Regions from separate parts of the Homo sapiens genome. Here region 1 is linked to region 2. The links are contacts of gene promoters, found by promoter capture Hi-C in blood cells and fetal thymus (Javierre and others, 2016). All regions are on one chromosome and are shown on one strand. Each heading gives the region's core, a stretch centred on a gene start or on the middle of the fragment in contact. The rest is flanking DNA. Distances are from core to core; before and after follow the strand shown. Region 1 overlaps SESN1 (sestrin 1). Region 2 holds the start of SEC63 (SEC63 protein translocation regulator).

The links. The method cuts DNA at HindIII sites, captures the fragments that hold promoters and counts their contacts. A CHiCAGO score of 5 or more calls a contact.
Region 1: a contact is called between a fragment that was not itself captured here and the fragment with the promoter of SEC63 in region 2, in 1 of 17 cell types (fetal thymus). The highest score is 5.0, in fetal thymus.

Annotation. Positions count from the first base shown.
Region 1 is chr6:109,004,702-109,011,420 of GRCh38, forward strand. The region is part of intron 1 of SESN1 (sestrin 1); the gene reads right to left. It also overlaps a transcript of ARMC2 not described here. Among named protein-coding and RNA genes, the nearest start is that of ARMC2-AS1, 84 kb to the left of the region's middle. RefSeq lists a silencer at 4,600-4,979 and enhancers at 5,050-5,099, 5,110-5,229. The HindIII fragment of the contact is 2,351 bases long and covers 3,370-5,720 here.
Region 2 is chr6:107,955,154-107,961,833 of GRCh38, forward strand. It overlaps SEC63 (SEC63 protein translocation regulator), which reads right to left and starts at 3,055. Exons shown (of 21, transcript NM_007214.5): 1 at 2,733-3,055. The coding sequence starts at 2,856. RefSeq lists enhancers at 2,494-3,095, 3,698-4,298 and a silencer at 2,718-3,257. The HindIII fragment of the contact is 6,986 bases long and covers 1,768-6,680 here.

The DNA.
Region 1 (6,719 bases), core at 3,295-5,794, 1.1 Mb after region 2:
TACAGGTGTGAGCCACCGCACCTGACCAACAATCGTATTTTAAAAATGAGCAAACAACACAGTTCAAGGAAAAGAAAATACAAATGGTTGAAAAATGCTTGACACTCAAAACAACTGCAAGTTAACTATGCTGAGATACTGTCTTCCTCCAAAAAGATTGCTTAAGATCAAAAAGTTTGATCACAGGCTGTATTGGAGAAAGGGTAGAGAAACTGTCATTAATTGTTTATATATTGCTGATGAGAGTGTTTTGAAGTATGAGAAAAAAGAGTATAGAGAATATATTACTACAACCGCTAGGAAGGGCAATTTGTAATAGTGATCAAAATTAAAAAGTCCCATAGCCTTTGAATCAACAATTCCATCCTAAGTGTTAACCTACAGATGTGCTCACATTTGTGAAATGCCATACGTAAAAGGATAACCACTGCAACATTGTTTCTAATAGTACGAGGTTGAAAACAATCTCAGTGTTCAATAGAAGGCTGTTTCAATAAAGTTCAGCATGACCATATAATAGAGTAGCATGCAGTCTTTAGAAAAAATGAAGCACTTCTACATGAGTTGACTTTAAAAGCTCTTCAAGTTATATTACAATAATGGGGAAGGGGAGGAGAAGCAAAGTGCAGAATATGTATATATTATGTTATCAGTAGGCAGGAAAAAAAACCTCACTGATTCAATTTCTAGGCCTTTATCTTACAAATACATTAGCATCATGAAAGGTAGTTACCTTTTTAAAAATGTGGCCAGATTGACAGCACATAGGTTTAGAAACAAAGAGGTATACAAATTATATTATTCTGGTTTTATTTCTCTACCAAATATATAGTTTATATGCCAAATTATTATAAAACAATAGGTTTACAATTCCAAGAAGGTGGCTATGAATGCTTGAGAAACAGAGTATTTCCTATATTTATGGCAAGGGTTCTATGTAATTCTTGTCTTTGTAAGTCCATCCCTATTGCCAAATTTAGTGGGCATATTAATAACACTGTCTCCCCTCTTCCTTAGCCTCCAAATTGAAGAGTCCTAATCTGTAAAATAGGGATGATGACAAAATAATAATACCATCAATCCCAACTATGTGGGATTATAATCTATATTATAAACTATAGAATTTTACAAATTATACAAACGTGAGTCTTTTGTTATAGATTCTAGTCTTAGGTATAAGGTCTAACAGATTTGGCTGTCTAATTTCTCAGAAGTAGCAGAGGAAGAGAGGGTAAAGTGGGGTTTCTAGACTGTGGCTGGCACCCTAACACTAGTCAATGATATCTGAGAACCAAATTGCCTTTCAGTTTTCGGCTTATTTCTTGAATAACACTGAAAAAGCAACTAGGGCTCATGATAATAAATAGCAATAGCAGCAGCAGCAGCTAACACAAAGTATGAGCTGAGCACTGTTTTAAATTATACTACCTGTAAACAAAGAACATGAGTCTATGATACTAAAGTTTAGAAAGAGTATTTGGTGTTCTACAATATTCATGAAAAAGTCAAGAGTCTTAGATTAATCCTTACCTTAATCTATGAAGCAGGTACTATTATTATCTCCATTTAGCATAACTGATGAAAGCCCTGAGATTTTTTTAATTTTTAAAATTATACTTTAAGTTCTAGGGTACATGTGCACAATGTGCAGGTTTGTTACATATGTATGCATGTGCCATGTTGGTTTGCTGCACCCATTAACTTGTCATTTACATTAGGTATATCTCCTAATGCTATCCCTCCCCCCACCCCCTACCCCACGACAGGCCCCGGTGTGTGATGTTCCCCACCCTGTGTCCAAGGAAAGCCCTGAGATTTGAACCCAAGTATTCTAGCTCAGTCAGTACTAGTGAGTGGTGGAGACGGGGGCTGAATCAATGACATCTGGTTCTAGAGTTGGTATCTTTCATTATTATTCTTTTGAGCCTCTTTAAGACTTCTTGATACCTTGGAGATTCTTACAGATACCACTGTTATTATACAGTAGTAGTCTTGGTTTATAAAAAGTTTCCATTTTCTGGAAAACTCACTTTTGAAACACTTCTTGGTCACATGTTAAATTGGTTACAACTCTTTTCTAGTAGATGCTGATCAAAAAAGGCACTGCGGGTGTTCAATGGGGTGATCATAAGCCAAACTAAATACATTTCATAGCTTCCTATTTAGGTTAATTCAATTATTCCTTCATCTGTAGCTGTAAGAAACTTAACTACAGACTTTGAACAAATTTTGGCCAATCCAGATTCTAGGAGACAGAACTGCCACCAACAAATGGCCTTGTTGAAAAGCAGATGTAGATACTAATCACAGCACTAACCTCACAGGCTCTCTGTGAAGGTGTGGCTGGAAGATTAACATGAGAACAATCTTTTCCCCTCAACAACCTAATAACCATCTTTGAAAGAGACAACAAGTTTCCACCATCACAATATTACTTCTGATGTTTCCTCAATGTATAATGCAAAACACTAATTTTCAGAGTGAAAATTCGTAGTGAATGTTGACAGTAGTACCACAGAAAGACTATGTTTTTATTGTATCACTGTATGAATCAATGTTTGTGTACTGAAAAGTACTGTTCCAGTCAGATGTTTCAAATTTGTGAGATACATTTATGCATCTGTATCAATATCCTTAAGTGAAATAATGAATGAATGACAAGTGCAAAATGAAAGCATTGTTGGCTTACAGTATCTACCCACCTGCAAAATTAGTTGAGAAGTAAAAATACACAAATAATTTGAATCATTTTGTTTTCCTCGCTACACTATTACTGTTGTGATTATCACAACATTCACAGTAATTTTATTTTTTAAATTCAAAAGCAGCATGTGTTTTTTGAAAAACATTTCAACAAGGTAAAGATATGTTATATAAAAAGTGAAAGTTCCCATCCCACTCGCCCTTCTCTGGGAGATTGCCTATAGCTGGGTGCTGGCCTTTCGACATTCAAAAAATTTAAATAGAAATGGAGAGATCTAGAAGTGTTAGAAATATGCCTACTATAGCAAAATGTACTAACAATTATGTTAATATTGTCATTAATACTAATAGGTAATTCAGAAATACTGAAAGTCCAGGTACTTTTTTTTTTTTTTTTTTTTGCCTTCTATGAACTATATTTTAGAAAAAAAACTTACTGACTTTAAGTTACTGCATTTGTAATACTTAGGCCATATTTGTGCCCTATACTTTGCTCAGGAGTTCCGTTTCTTGAAAGTGTTTAATTTAAAAGCATTATGGAAGCTAGCTATTTGAAAGAATTGTGTTATTCTTTTTGTAAAGTGAATAGTTTTCCTATAAAGCATTCCTTCCTAAGTTATCTTCTCACATGTTGGGATGTATTAAAAATGAAATACAACTATACAAAGCTTCCCGGTTTCCTCAACACAATCCCATAAGCGCTGTAACAATATGCAAGCCAAAATCTATTTCTTTATCTTTTAGTTTACAAAGCTATCTTTAGAAATTCTAGATCTGAGCAAGAACCAGGACTCTGCACACAAACATCAGCAGAAATAACAGATCTATTCAAGCATGATGATTGGGGCTCACTTCTACTCAAAAAGAGAAAAGATCTATTATGACCCGCAAACAGAAACTGTAAATGTTAATTCAATACTTTCATACTGTTTTCACTTTTTGGTAAAGTTTCCAAAGCGATACTGTAAGAGATTTTTAAAGATTGTTTTATTATCTGTAAACAAGGAACATCTAATATGTCCATAAATGTTAAAATCTCAAAAAAATATTTGGTGCTTTACAACCTTCATGACAAAGTGTCTTCATTTAAGTTTCTATGAATATACATAGTATACTGATAATAGACTCCATTAAAGAAATCACGAAACCACGTCATTTTAGTGAGTAAAGCTGCAGAAAAAATAATTCACATTTAGATTTCTTGAACTAAGGCAACACTCTGACAGCACCTGATTTCAATCCAAATTTAAGGTTCGAGTTTTACCTAAGGTTACATTAGTAACTTTCAAATGGTTTCCTATTTGCAACCACTTAGAAAAAAACACAAAATGTTACAATTAAGTACCTCTTTCTAAAGGACAATTCAGAAAAGGGATGGCTTAATACGCAAGAGTAAACGCTGTGCATAACGTCATAGAGCTTGCAGGACACACTTATTCCAGGCAACATCATCTCTTCCCTGAGTCAAATGTGTTTTTTTTCTTTCTCTCTCTTTTAAGTAGGAGGCAAAGGGGATGAAGGTGGCTAAATAATCTGTTTTCACAAGACAAGACAATCGAGGGGGCATATCCACAGGCTGTTTCACCCTCAAGACTCGAGGTCTGCTGGATTTCTGACTTGTGGAGACTTGTCCAGACGACAATGTTATTTACGTATTGGAGACTTTCATTTACATGACCGCGGCCGCAGTCTCTCCCAGCTTAGCATTTTCTGCCCAGGGACGACTCACGGTGCGCAGGTCTCCCACCCACCGCAGGCAACCCCTTCCCCCGAGGGGCGCAGGAGGGCCGGGACGCTGCTCCCCGGGAGCCCGCCCTATCTGGGGAGCGTTTTCGGATGCTGACCGGGAGCGACTGTGAGGAGGCAACGTGACCTCCGTGTTGCACAGGGCAGCTCGGCCGGGTGCCCACCCGCCCAGGTACCCAGCGGCCCGCTCAGCCCCTCGCCCAGGTACCTCGTCCTGGTCGCGGCCCCCGCCGCACTGCTTGCAGCCCAGCAGCCCCGAGACCGCCAAAGGGGCCGTGTACGCCTCGTTCGCGGCGGCGGCCAAGCGCATGTCGGCGCGGGGACGGCTGCGGACGCGCGGAGGCGGCGAGCGCTGGGCAGCCGGCCGCGGCTCCTGGCTGCAGCGCCTCAGTCAGCACGGACGGCGGGGGGGCGGGGCGGCGCCGACAAACAAGCCGCGCGGCCCCGCCCCGCGCCCGTCATTTCACCGCCCTGGCGGCCACGCAAGCCAATGCGGGCTCGCGTCCCCGCAAAGCACCGCCCCTCCGGCGCGGAGGCTGGGAACTGGCGGTCTGACGCGGCGAGGTGAAAAATCACCTTGGGGGCCCAGGTTCCCCACGAACAGCTAATTCTCAGGTACGGAATGGGCTCTGGAGGGCCGCGAGGTGAGCGTGCACTGTCAGGAAGGTGCAGCACGAGTCTTCGGGCTTCAGGGACAGGGGAATCTGCCCCCTACACCCCTGCTCGGCCATTTACCTAGAACCAAACAGCAGCCAACCTCGAGACTGATTCTGACAGCACCAGGAGTAATGAAGTTCTCTAAATTCGATAAACTATTGAAATTTCCCTTCTTCCTTTCCCATAATGCCCAAACGACGCTGAATCGGCAGCAGAATGCAGGACTTTGGCCTATAATCAATGCAAAATTCATTTTGCTAAGCTACGTAAAAGCTATAAATATCACTCCCCTACACAGATAATAAACCTTGGTAGCCTATCTCTGAATCGTCTTTTTTCCTCTCAAGTATATTCGAAGGCTTTACAATTTCTAATATTCCTTCATAAGCGCCCTCCCTGGGTTATAAAGACAGAATTTCAATCTCTGAAATCGGATGAGGAACTTGGGAAAATACAGGTTACAAAGGAGAAAAACAACTGACATTGTTGGGCCCAGAACCCAGATCCCTCCAGTCCTGTGTCAGTACTATTTCTTTACATAACTCTATTCTCTCTCTTTAAAAGAAACAAATTCCTAAATTAGATCTCTTTTTGCATGTTTATGCTGTTTTCAAAGCTTAAGTGCTCAGGTTAAAAAACAAAAAAAGTTGGAACATTCTGACAAGGAAACAAGTGGAATTTATAGCAGTAGTTATGGCCACAGAACAGGACTCATAAATGAAAATAAGTTTCAGTCTTAGAAGTGACGCTACCGTGTCTCAGTGAAAACTAAGTTACTCTTTTAGCTCTTCAACTATCATGTTTAAAGTGGCATGTCAAAATGGTTACTTTTTATTTATCTCCTAATAAATAAGATAAATGATATATGTTCTCTATACTGCTTTTAAAAAATAGCTAATGCACCCAAAATATTTTTTACTGGTCAAAAGAAGCAATATTGAGTTAATGTCGATATAGAAGAAAAGGCTACAGAGGCTTCCAAGCTCTCATCCACTGAGCACAGCCACAAAAACAAACAGTACAATCAAATGCCCACTCAGCCGTAAGCAAATACAAAAACAAAACAAACCCAGTACATCATGCAATTTGCAGCAATATGACATACCCTGCAAGATAAACTGGTTGTAAATGAATGAGTTGGACACATAAATGCACTTGATGTATGGGATTGTGAGCTGCAAAAGCTAGTTAGGTAGAAGTATGTGAAAAATGATGACTCTGGTTCTAGAAGAGTTGAGGTATGATTTTATTTCTGAAGGAATCACAGTTTTAGTTGTCTAGTAGGGCATAATCTTAGTTATGACATTTGTAAAATGAAGAATGCTTATCTTTCCATTTTCTAATGAGAGGCAAGGGAAAAGCATGCATTCAGTTAAATCAAAAGTGGCTTAAAATAAGTAAATGCAAGTGAAAACTGCTAACTGCATGCATATAGTAGGCTGATACTTAGTGCTTGATAAATATTTATTGAAGAAATATTTCAGATATACTGAAATTGTATAGGAAGCTCCAATTAGGATTCCTTTTTCCCCCAGATAGTTTCAAATTATTATTTAATGCTGCCTTATGTGAAAAGAAAAATAATTTTAATTTAATATTCTAATTTAGTGGTT
Region 2 (6,680 bases), core at 1,805-4,304:
TCAGTTTCTTTACCTGTAAATGGAGATAATAATAGAACCTACCTCACTGCATTGCTGGAGTGTGGTGGCACGATCTCGGCTCATTGCAACCTCCAGCTCCCGGGTTCAAGCAATTCTCCCTGCCTCAGCCTCCCGGGTAGCTGGAATTACAGGCGTCCGCCACCACTCCCAGCTAACTTTTTGTATTTTTGTAGAGACGGGGTTTCACCATGTTGGCCAGGCTGGTCTTGAACTCCTGACTTTAGGTGATCCGCCCGCCTGGGCCTCCCAAAGTGAGCCACGGCAGGCGTGAGCCACCATGCCCGGCCAACCTCACTGCATTTTTAAGAAGATTAAATAAAGTAAAAGTTGAAGTCCATGATTTACAAATAGTATTAATTCCCTCCACCTAAACTACCACCACTTTTTCAAAGACACTTACATGCTGAAGGGGGTCAAGTATGACTTGTTGGCAGGGCGTGGTGGCTCATGCCTGTAGTCCCAGCACTTTGGGAGCCCGAGGAGGGCAGATCACTTGGTGTCAGGAGTTGGAGACCAGCCTGGTCAACATGGTGAAACCCCATCTTTACTAAAAACACGAAAATAAGCCAAGCCTGGTGGTGCACGCCTGTAATCCCAGCTACTGGGGAAGCTGTGGCAGAACTGCTTGAACCCAGCAGGTGGAGGCTGCAATGAGTCAAGATCAAGCCACTGCACTCCATCCTGGGCAACAGAGTGAGACTCTGTCTCTAAATAAATAAATAAATAAATAAATAAATAAATAGTATGATTCTTCTATGAAATCAGGTGAATTTTATAATACGAAACTCACCATGAAAATATGACTTTCAAATTTCAAAAATCCATCCTGACACAGTGGCTCAAGTCTGTAAGGCCAGCTACTCGGGGGGCTGAAGCGGGAGGATGACTTGAAGCAAGTTCAAGACCAGCCTGGGTAAATGAGACTCTCCCCGCTTTAAAAAGAAAAAAAGAACAACTTTAAAAATCCAATGTAGATTAAAAAATGATGGCTAATTTCTGAAATCAGGGCAGTTTCTCAAAACACTTTTTTTTATACCTTTGTTCTGCCTGATCAAAACACATTCTGGCCAAACCCACCGACTACTCTCCCAATACCTTTTTGTTTTCTACACTACCAATTGCACACATAATGGCTGTTAGGTGAAAATAAACTACTGAAAAGTGTACCCTTTTAACTTGAAATACAACAACCACAAGAATGGCCTAGGTTTGCAGATAAGAAAAGCCATTACAGCATTAAGACTTCACTTATACACAATCACTGCCCAAAGAACCTACCCAATTTTTTTTCCTTTTTCAACATCGAGGAAGAACCTACACAATTTAAATGCACTTAGGAAATAAGGCACAACAGTCCAAGATCCAAATTTCATAAACTACCCATTGAGTAAAAAAAGTATTAAGACTAGTAACTTTGGACAGATTTTTGCATCTAATGGATTTTTAAACTTATTGTCAAACGTACAAAATGATGCAATCCTTTGTTACTATTTATCCTAAATTTATTTTAGTTCTATTCCAAGTCAAGAATGTTAGTTTCCTGCAGATCACATGGGGCGGGGGGGAAAAAGAATGTTACAGGACACTGAATCCATCTGAAAGTATAACAAGTTCTGAGCTGATTCAAGGCTTCACTGTTAACAACTTCTCCAAGTAGAGTATATAACCTGGACAACCTAGACCTCCAGCACACCCAATTGAAGAGAAGATATTTAAGCAAGTTAGCACAGCTCTTGTGCAATAGAAAGCTTTCCCTAAGTTGTTAATACTCAAAACCCACTCCTTACTGTTAACACTACCATAAATAACCCATTAGGCCCTCGCAGTTACATCAGCTTTAAGAATACCATCTGCCATATGTCCTAGTAGAGTGCAACAAATGGATGCAAACATTACCCAAACATCAAGTGAAATATGAAAAGAATCTGTTATTCTGTGCTTTAATTCGATGTTGTTTAATGTGAAAAGACTTAGAACCAAAAGTAAATCGACCCACTACCTCAAAATTCCCTACAAGATTAATTAAACGAGACTTAATCCTTCATACTTGCACTTTTTCCGTCACAAACAGGAAACTCCGAAGAAAAGGAAATAGAAAAAAGCCTATTTTTGCTAAGAGGAATAACGGCATTGCTTCCAACCCCCACAGTGAGTGAACAAATGAAAAAGCAACGGGAGGAAGTGACGGGGGTAGGCGGTGGAAAGCTCAATTGGAGTCCTAAGCATGCCACCCGGCTCAGAGATGCCCTAAAACATCTGTTAAGAGCAGCTGCAACAGGGAAACCGGAGTCGGGGGATGAGGGCCGCGAACTGGACGGACTGAGAGTTGTGCCCGCACGTTCAGTCTCTTCTTGGCCAACTCTTTGCTCACCTCCCAAGTCCCCATCCCGCTTCCTCCATAAAGAAAAATCCCCAATAAAAGCAAAGGCAGAGAAGACAAAGAGGCAGGAGGAGGCTGCAAGGAGCGTCCACAACAATGGAGAAGATGGAGCGAGCGAAACTCCTGAGGACAATGAAGGGAGGTGGAGAAGCGCCGAGGGAAACGCTGCTGACCCGGGCCCCGCCAGTGGCGGACGCTGGACACAGGCCGGGCCGCACCGTCCCTGTCATCCCGGACGCCGCGGGCTGGGGCCGGGCAAGCGGGCGCCGCAGGGCCTGGGGGCGCTGGCGGGGCCTGCGCGGGTTCGCGGGCAAAGGCCGGCGGGACTCACCGGCATTCTGATCTCGGGGCCAGAGGTAGTATGTCGCCGGGATCACGATGAGCCCCACGAAGGAGGTGAGGAAGTAGAAGAAGGTGTTCCCACTGTCATCGTACTGGAACTGCTGCCCGGCCATGGCACCCCCTCCTCCGCCTCGCTCTTCTCACCGCCGCCGCCACGACCACGCTCTGCACTCCCGCTCCCAACGCCCCGGCCCGAGTGGCGTAGCTTGGACACTGCCGCCGCCGCCTCTCCTCCCCGCCCCCACGCCACTCTCACGGACACGCCGCCGCCACCTCTGCCGCTGCCGCCGCCGTCGCCAGCTCTCGCGAGAGGAGATAGTTCCCGCCCCGCTCAGTTTTCCCTCCCCCTGCGTGTCCCCAGCGAGCTCGCTAAGGGAGACGTGGCGAGCGCAACGGTGGAACTCGGCGAGGTCTCGCCCTTAGCCCCGCCCTAACGTCAAAGCCCTCCCCCAACCCCTCCCCTAGGGTCCCGCCCCTAACCGCTCCGCCTTCCTCCACCGCTCAGTTTCCCAGCGCACCACGCCGGATTCCGGGCGTCGGCGTACAGGATCCCAGAGAAGGCTTCCCGCCGGAGCAGCGGTCGCGGGCGGTTCACCTGGCTGCGCAGGGGTCCCAGATATTCAGAGAAGAGCTGAGGCTCAGCCTGTCCTGCCCTCTGGATTAATTGCCCTGGTTGATCACGTTTCCTTGGGTTCTGGATCTGCTCCTCCAGCCCCCATATTTTGGAAACAAGTGTCATTTAGAATAGGGGGTGGGAGGCCGGGCACAGTGGCTCACGCCTGTAATCCCAGCACTTTGAGAGGCCGAGGCGGACGGATCATGAGATCAGGAGTTCGAGACCAGCCTGACCAACATGGTGAAACCCACTCTCTACTAAAAATACAAAAATTAGCCGGACGTGGTGGCGCGCGCCTCCATCTCAAAAAAAAAAAAAATTGGGGGATGGGGAGGTGTGGGTTGCGGGAGGTGTGGGTTGCAGTTGTGTTTTCAAAGCAATGTTTACTATCTGGCCGGGCGCAGTGGCTCATGCCTGTAATCCCAGTACTTTGGGAGACCGGGTGGATCATGAGGTCAGGAGTTCCAGACCAGCCTAACCAACATGGTGAAACCGCGTCTCTACTAAAAATACAAAAACTAGCCGGCTGTGGTGGCACGCGCCTGTAATCCCAGCTACTCAGGAGGCTGAGGCAGGAGAATCGCTTGAACCCGGGAGGCGGAGGTTGCAGTGAGACCGGATCGCTCTCCACTGGGCGACAGATTTGAATCTACGCTGTGCCCATCTTGCAGATGAAGATTTCCCCAAGCCGTTACAGATGGTTCCCTACCCATTCCAGAGCTGCTAATTATAACCACCAGCTTCAGGCGGTAGGCTGAGACCTTTATTGTTTTGTGTCATTTAGTCATCAGTAAACCCCATGGAATAAAGCAAAGTATGTCTGCTCTACAAATGAGAAAATTGAGGCCCAGAGAGACTGCCCAAGGTCCCTCACAGTAAAAGAATGTCTGAGGATTCAAACCCATATCATTTTGATGCCACAAAGCCAGTGTGCCCTTGACCCTCCATCGCCCAGGACCTTAAAATTTCCTGACAGTGACTGGCATTCTCCCTGCGGGTTGTGAACAGGAAACTGCATTTCAGGGATGGACGGTGGCGGGAGCAGTCGCTCTCGGGAGCCTCTCCTTCCCCTGGCTGTGGGACCCTAGAGGCTGGTGTCCGCTGAGCTGGAAACTGGACTTCTGCCCAGATCTTTGAACGACCCCACGGTCCAGCGGCAGCTGTGGCTGGGGTCTATCCCAGAGTCCATTGCCCCTCTCTGGGTTAAAAGGATAGCCCACCTGGTTGCAGAGATTGAAAGGACTAATTGTGAAAATGCTTTTCAAAGGAGAAAGTGTAATATGCAAATACCAAATATTACACTATATTTCAAGGACTCATTTTAATACTTTATACTCTGTTAACTAAATGCATTATAATATTCCTTCCATTGTTGGAGGAAAAATCTGGTTGCTCATTGTCTTTCATTTCATGTCTTCAAAACTAGTATCTTAATCAGTAATGCTTTCCTTCATAATAGATTGTGTTCATATGTATTCTCTCTTCCCTTCAAATTTCCTATCTACTCACTTTGAAAGGAAATTTCTGAAATTCATTTCTATGCATTTCCCTCCTCACTTTTTTTCTGCACAAAGTTCAAAACTATATTATAGGTGAAAAAATAAAACCAAGAAATGAAGGGAAGGTTGAACTATGAAATCAACATAGCATTGTGATCTCCCAACGCTGATATACCCAGAGTGAACAATTTGCCTTGCTACAGAAAATTAGTCACAGACTTGTTGCAGCTGAAGTGAGCAGGATCATGAAGTTCCTTTTGTTTGTTGAATATGTTATTAAGTCTTCCTCGGTTTTAATAATGTTGAACTGTTTTTTTATTACTCCTATTATGTTTTGCTGGGCATTTGTTTAAAGATAATACATCAGTTTTGTAACCTTGTAGCAATATAAGTTATTGATGATAAATACTCCCCTTCTTTCTTTCTGCAGGAATAATATTTTCACTGCAGCTTTGGGGTCATGCCTAAAAGTGGCTTGAACCAAATTGAAATAGCAATTTGAAAAAACCCCAGATCAATCTAAAATGTTATTTTTTTAACCAAAGCATGTTCAAGATTTGAAAATGTATCCTCTATTTTCAAAAGTATACATATAATTTATCCTAGAACTTAATATTACTGAACATAGATAACCTCAGACCACCCAAATATTCTCCAAAGCAAATCTTAATCATACCTTTAATTAATTTAATCGCAATTTCTGATTCACTTTTTTTTTTTTTTTTGAGACAGGGTCTCATTCTGTTGCCCAGGCTGCAGTGCAGTGGTGCATTCTTGGCTCACTGCAGCCTCTGCCTCCAGGTTCAAGTGATTCTCATGCCTCAGCCTCCCGAGTAGCTGGGACTACAGGCGTGCACCACCACACCCGGCTAAGTTTTGCATTTTTAGTAGAGACAGGGTTTCACCAAGTTGGCCAGGCTGGTCTCGAACTCCTGACCTCAGGTGATCCGCCCACCTCAGCCTCCCAAAGTGCTGGGATTACAGGCATTAGCCACCATGCCCAGCAGATATTTTTAACCTAATAAAATTGTTTCAAGAAATTATTTTAGTGAGATATTTAATAAAAGTAAATTAATATGGCTGGGTGCCATGGATCACATTGAAGACCAACCTGGCCAACATGGTGAAACCCTATCTCTACTAAAAATACAAAAATTAGCCGGGCATGGTGGTGGTGCCTGTAAGCCTAGCTACTCGGGAGGCTGAGGCAGGAGAATCACTTGAACCCAGGAGGCAGAGGTTGCAATGAGCCGAGATCATGCCACTGCACTCTAGCCTGGCCAACAGAGCAAGACTCCATCTCAAAAAAAAGAAAAATATGGAAGAAGCAAAGCTACAGACAAAACTTGTCTTTAGTCTAACAGCATATATTAAAAGGCATTTAGGCCTGTAATCCCAGGACTTTGGGAAGCCAAGGCAGGCAGATCACTTGAGGCCAGGAGTAAAAGACCAGCCTGACCAACATGGTGAAACCCGGTCTCTACTAAAAATACAAAAATTAGCTGGGTGTGGTGGCAGGCGCCTGTAATCCCAGCTACTCAGAAGGCTGAGACAGGAGAATCACTTGAACCCAGGAGGTGAAGGTTGCAGTGAGCTAAGATCGTGCCATTGCACTCCAGCCTGGGTGACACAGCAAGACCATGTCTCAAAAAAAAAAAAAAAAAAAAAGGCATTGGGCATTTTAGTATTTATGTCTGTAATTGAATATTTTAATCAATTTTGTTTTAATTGCTAGATAGACATTTTCCCTGTAGAAAGCCTGACTATTTTGGGGTTCCTTTTCATACTTTGCTTTTTCCTTAGAGTGAATCTTTCCTTCTTT